Linked DNA regions of Homo sapiens: region 2 is linked to region 1. Evidence: promoter capture Hi-C in human tissues and cell types (Jung and others, 2019). All regions are on one chromosome and are shown on one strand. Each heading gives the region's core, a stretch centred on a gene start or on the middle of the fragment in contact. The rest is flanking DNA. Distances are from core to core; before and after follow the strand shown. Region 1 holds the start of CPNE8 (copine 8). Region 2 has its middle 130 kb from the start of LINC02406.

Region 1 (2,973 bases), core at 258-2,757:
GCAAAGTCAAGATTGATGGAATTTTAAACTTATTTACATCAAGATCACCCAAATTTGTTAGATATCTTCAAGGCAAGTTTGCTAAGGAAAGGAAAGGGAGGATGTGAGGGCATAAAAACAATCTTAGGGCAAAAATGGATAAATGAGGAGCCAGTTTTCCAGTGAGACAGACCCAATTATGCAAACAAGGGAGTGGGCTCCAGGGTCAATATTAATTCGCAAATTAGTGGCCAGTACCAATTTAGCACCATCGCTCATCTCCTTCTCAAAATCATCTATGATATAGCGGTGATGCTGCTTTATTTACAGGGCAACTAACCGAAAGGTCAGGACAACGAGTTTGCAATTTACAGTCTCTGGACAGGGTTGAAAGTCAGTTTTTTTTTGTTTTTTTTTTTTTTTTGAGATGGAGTCTTGCGCTGTCGCCCAGGCTGGAGTGCAATGGCAAGATCTCAGCTCATTGCAACATCCACATCCCGGGTTCAAGCGATTCTCCTGTCTCAGTCTCCCGAGTAGCTGGGACTACAGGCGCGTGCCACCACGTCCGGCTAATTTTTGCATTTTTAGTAGAGACGGAGTTTCACCATATTGGCCAGGCTGGTCTCGAACTCCTGACCTCGTGATCCACCCGCCTTGGCCTCCCAAAGTGCTGGGAATACAGGCGTATAAACTGTACTGAGCCACTGCGCCCGGCCGAGAGTCAGTTTTTACAAGCACTCAGATGTGGGCCCGAAAACAAATCAAAACAAAAGTCGTGACTTCCCAGATCTTAGGTAAGGCATAGATTCGTCTGCAAGGAGGGCCGAAATCTCTACCTATCAGGCAAAAGGCAAAAAGCCCGGAAGGGTCGGGGAGAAGCAAGCTGGAAGGCTCCAGGAAGTGGGTGGGGAGGAAGCTGCCGGGGTTGGAGCCAACCCTAGCAACAGCAGGTTTGCACACGCCTAGCAGAGGAAGTCCCGGGCCTAAGCGTGCAGCGGTCACAAGAGCTTTTGGCAGTGCTGTCCCCTTCGATTCCGGTCATCACCCAACCATCCAGCCCGGGTTTGGGGCGGAAAACCGGCTTGTAAAGTGGGCGGCGGCCGGTGTTCCCACAGCTGAGTCACAGCCCAGCCAACTTTTACAGCGTTTCCCAGAAAGAAAATACAAAGTCTCAGTCCCGGAGCCCACCGCTTCTAATTCCCGCTCCCCTGTGTCACCTGACCCGGGGTAACTCCAGCCCCACTACTGAGATATTTCCCACTCATGGCGCAACTTCTTGCCTGCGCAAAGCCTCGTGGTACCCCGAGCGCTCTCCAAGTGCTACCAACCCCACAGATGAGAGGGCAGGAGAGAGGGGAAGGGCTGCGTCCTCACCTGCAGGACACGGACACCTCCACCCGCGTGGCCGGGATGGCAGCGCTCAGCTGGTTCAAGTCCCCGATGCCCGCAGTGCTGTTGTAGCGGCTGTCCATATTGGGAGGAGGCGCCTTGGACTTGTCCGGCGCCCACAACCACAGCTCGGGCGGACTGAGGGCTAGCTCCCGTCAGGCGGGGATGGGGGTTGAGGGTGGAGGCAGAAGAAGGAGGCGGAGGCAGCGCGCGGGATGGGGGAGGGAAGGGAGGAGGCGGACCTCCGCGCAGAGCCACGAGGGAACCGCTAGCCAGTCCTGGGTGAAACTGACGCTGCCAGGCAAGTGGCGCGCGGGGATCCCGGTTTCCCAGCCCCCTTCCGGCAGGCAGCAGCCCGGGCGGGGGACACACTCCGTGATCCCCTCCTGGCTGGAGGGGTCAGGCTTGGTGGACCCAGCAAGCAGCCTGATGGAGAAGGTGGCACCAGACGCAGACCCCTACCGTCCAGGACCGCAAGCCCTCGCCGGCTCTGCGTGCTTTTAGGTTTTGTCTCCACCTCTGCACACCCACACTCGCCTCCTGGGCCGCGACAGCTTCCTTCTGTCAATCAGGTGTGGACGGGAAGGTCTCGAAGTTTCCTCGCCTGAGTTGAAAGCTGGAGGTGGGGGCACCTCTGCCCGTTCCTAACTGCCCCGTTATAAGGTCCCCCTCCCCACAATTGGTTCTCACCTCGCCCTCGGAGCTCTTGGGAGATCCCTCCGTCCCTCCTACTGTGCCCTCGGGCAGATGAGTCTGGTCCCAGCTTCTGGACTGCCCACTGTCGGCCACTTGAGAGTTGGGGACGGTGGGGCATTGTGACGCTCTCCAACCTTGGAACACGGTGGCAAAGTGGCCGATCAATATATGGGACAAGTGGGGGCGGGGGGGCGGACTCTAAGGTGGAAAAAACAATACTACTTGGGATTTAAGGAAGCAATCTGGATTCTGTCTCCCCTTGGTTCTTCGGAGCTTAGAGGTCTAACGGCGACATTCCTCCTACAGTAAGGGCTCTTCTGGGTCCCTCGTTTCCAAAGGCATGAAAGTTCTGACCTGAAAATGGGGGCCGGGGAGGGTGATGTCACAACCATATAACGCAGCTCCTTCAGCCGACTCCCACCCGCAAGAACTGAGACCTGACGGATAAAAGCAGAGAGGAGTCAGAGTGAGCGCTGCGTTTGGGAAACTGCATTCCAGGGCAGCAAGACTGGTGCCAAGACGGAGTCGTGGCAAAAGCATCCGGAGGTAGACGAGGCGCCCCTCCACTGCAGGGACCTTTGTTCCCCGCGCCTTCCCTCCTGCCTCACCCGAGCGCCTGCGGGTCCCGGGAGCTCGCCACCAGGCGGCGACGGAGAACAGGATGCGGCGCAGCTGGAAGGCAGAGGGTGGAGAGGGGGCGGGTGTCCGTCCGATTTAACGCTCCAAGCACGGAGTTTCCAGCTGGTTGGGCTAAGTCTGGGAGGAGCAGTTTTTGCGGTGGAGGACTTGCCTTGCGTTGTAACATTTTAATCCACTTGCAGCCTCCTGCCTAGAGAATCTATAGAGGCGGGTGAGAGTGTGTAGGTGCAGTCTTGCCGATTCCCCTGCCGAGTGTACTTCCCCTGTTTC
Region 2 (3,002 bases), core at 138-2,637, 370 kb after region 1:
CAAATTCCTTGAACCTCCTAAGGCTGCTGGACAGGAGCTTCAAGAATTATGAGTTTTCAGAGTCTGAAGATAGCTATTCAATTTAACCAACTGTAGCAACTGATTTAATTAAGTAGTCACTCTGGTTTAAGGCTCTGCACTTCTTCAGATGCTATTTAACGATTCTGTCTTCCGCTTGAATTTGACTCCAAATCCACCCTAATATCCATAGGCAGTTAGAATTAATCAGTGCTTCCCACTCAAACCCACTCCAAGTCCAAAAAAAAAAAAAGAATGATTAATTTGTCTAGCTGCAGTCACCAACGTTGTAGAGGACATCACTGCCCCCTGGTGGAAATACTAAAAACTGTTCTGGGACTGTTCCCAGAAAGATCAAAATCTATACAGAAAAAACTAACTTGTTAGTAATCTGCACATTGAAAGGTCATGACGTCCCAGTGACCATGTTATTATCCTACTCTCTTTTCCCCTCCTTAATTTCTCAATTCGTAGCTCAAGTTGCTTCAGGCATCTACAACGCATCATCAGATGGTCTCCCAGTGACACTGGAATACGAAATTTCCTCAGTGGATGTGCATTACCAAAACACCAGTGACCACTTCAGGACAAATCAAAAGGTTGTCTTCATGTAGCATAACGTTGTCTAAATTTAGGAGAGCTTTAGTTCATGCAGCTACTGAAAAATCTGGCTTCTGTGCATACTTGGCAAATTTGCAAATCACCTCTTAATTCTTCCCCAGTTTTTTTTTTTTTTTTTTTTTTGTGGGTGGAGGAGGATTTCCCCAAATTTAGGGAAAAAAAAGCCTAGGTTTTTTTTTTTCTGTTGAAAAAATGGAATGAATGAGGTGAGTGAGCCTCAGGGCCTTTTATTTTCCCCTGCCAGTGTAAGACAGAGAAAACAGTGTAGGAGCTGCTGTCATAAAAAAAAGCCTTCCCCAATGACTCCTGTTTACTCTTTGGAACTCCAAGAGTTTATTTTCTAAACCATGGATGCTAATCCTGGATGCTCATCAAGATCATCTGAAAAGTTTGCCATTTTGTTCTTACTGCTATTGTGTTATATTATTGTTTGATACAGATTCATAATTACTGAATTGTTATTTCAGAGAATGGGGAACCAAATTGTTTTCATGAATGAATGAAGTCTCTAAGTAAACCCTAATCTTCTTAGAACAATATTTCCTTCATAACTGACTTTATACAAATTAATTCTTTTCTCTTTCCCAATTGCCACCACTTTCATTCATACACCAGCATCATCCATGAGCTATTGCAATGGGCATAATATATTATGGCACACAGGAGATTGTCTTCCCATCCATCCTCAACACCACTTTCAGAATCATATTTTTAGACACCAGATAGATCCTATTATTTCCCTAAATAAAAGCTTTCAGTGGCTCTTCATTAAACATAAGATAAAATTCATATTCCTTAGCATGACATACAAAAGCTATGTTTCAATACCTACAACTAATATATCAATCAAAAAACGTTTTTTAAGTCTATGCTTCGGCCATGACCAAAAACTTATAGTTCCCCCAAATATGCCATACCATTTCAAGCCTCTTAACCTTTGCCTAAAGCCCTGCTTAGACTGCTTTTTCCCCATGTCTACCCATTTCTACCCATTTCTGCAGGACATTTATTTTTCCAGACTCGCAATTTCCCTCTTTTTAAAGCACTTTCCTAACCTCTTTCTTCTTCCCATGTAGAACTGACCATAGTACTTATAACACTTGACTGTACTCGCTAGTCCACCTCCCTCTGATAATTAGAATGGCCATAAGGGTGAGAGAATTATGCCTGAATGATTTTTGTATCTAGAAAAAATTACTGTTGAATGAATGAGTGAAGGAATGAATAAAAATGCCCAACACATACGCAAGTGCATATTTGACTCAGTTTACATTTCTCCATTGCCAAACTGATGGGAAAAAAAGTGTAAACTCATATGATTGAGCAGACATGATTAAAAACTTAGCACCCAAGAGCCCTTCCTCAGGCAGAAGGTGAAATGAGTAGCTTCATCTGACAGGTCACAATAGCCCCACCCACAGCTGGGAGAAATCAGCTCACATTGAAGGAGCTAGGTCCTGGGGTAGCCACTGCCCCTTTCCCCTGGATTCTGTAAGAGCTTGATTCGCCCGTACTATAATGTATATTTAATTATATTACTTAATAAATCGTCAGCATTTACTTTACTTGAATCATGATTTTACTTGCATGAGTACATCAACTTGATATGTAAGCCTATACTTCTCTAATACGAAATAGTTAAGAATCAAAAAAAAAGTTTTTGAGCACTCAATTTAATATAAAACATTAATAATAAATAAACATTGCCCTTCCAGGTTTTTAAACCCATGGAAACATAATGCATCTATATTAACGTGAAACTTCATGCATGTATAATCATTATTAAATAAGTAGATTCAGTTTTCATCCTTTAGACAGTCTTTAGCAGTGTAGTATATGACAATAAATGAAAAGTGTATCAATCAAAGTTTCATAGTCCTCTCTCTGCATAAAGAAATATGAGGGAGGAAAATGAAAACTAAATAGATTGGCAGGCAGAAAATGCTGATACTGTCCTTCATCCACATTTGGAATAGTTCTCTGGTCTCTCTCTTCCTAAAATAACCTATGCAGTGAGTCAAATAATTTCTTTCTTCTTTGGTAAAACTAGACCTAAATTTCAGTTTACAAAGAAAGAAAAGTGAAAATAGGGAAGGAAGGAAAGAAAGATGCCCAACTGCCTGACTTTGAATTAATTGCAATCCTTTTAATAAAAAATAAATAAATAAATAATATTAAAAAAGCTGTTCCATCTTGACCACATCCTCTGTCAATCTGCAGAACTACCCAGTGAAGTAGGGTTGTTCATACAGCTACGGAGCTGAGACTCTAGGCCTCTACAGATCCATTGACTAATTGCCCTAAGGGCTCAGGTCAGACCTAATTTCCCCTAATTCCAGTGCTTTCCTCATTTCAAAAAAGCA

The links. The method cuts DNA at HindIII sites, captures the fragments that hold promoters and counts their contacts. A contact is called where the count stands out against the background at its distance.
Region 2: a fragment that was not itself captured here is called in contact with the fragment with the promoter of CPNE8 in region 1 in 1 of the 25 tissues and cell types used here (dorsolateral prefrontal cortex).

What each region holds. Positions count from the first base shown.
Region 1 is chr12:38,904,084-38,907,056 of GRCh38, forward strand. CPNE8 (copine 8) reads right to left here and starts at 1,508. Exons shown (of 20, transcript NM_153634.3): 1 at 1,354-1,508. The coding sequence starts at 1,451. CPNE8-AS1 (CPNE8 antisense RNA 1) reads left to right here and starts at 1,629. Exons shown (of 2, transcript XR_007063275.1): 1 at 1,629-2,914. RefSeq lists a silencer at 1,493-1,662 and an enhancer at 2,793-2,973. The HindIII fragment of the contact is 9,063 bases long and covers 1-2,973 here.
Region 2 is chr12:39,273,045-39,276,046 of GRCh38, forward strand. No RefSeq gene overlaps it. Among named protein-coding and RNA genes, the nearest start is that of LINC02406, 130 kb to the left of the region's middle. The HindIII fragment of the contact is 5,121 bases long and covers 1-3,002 here.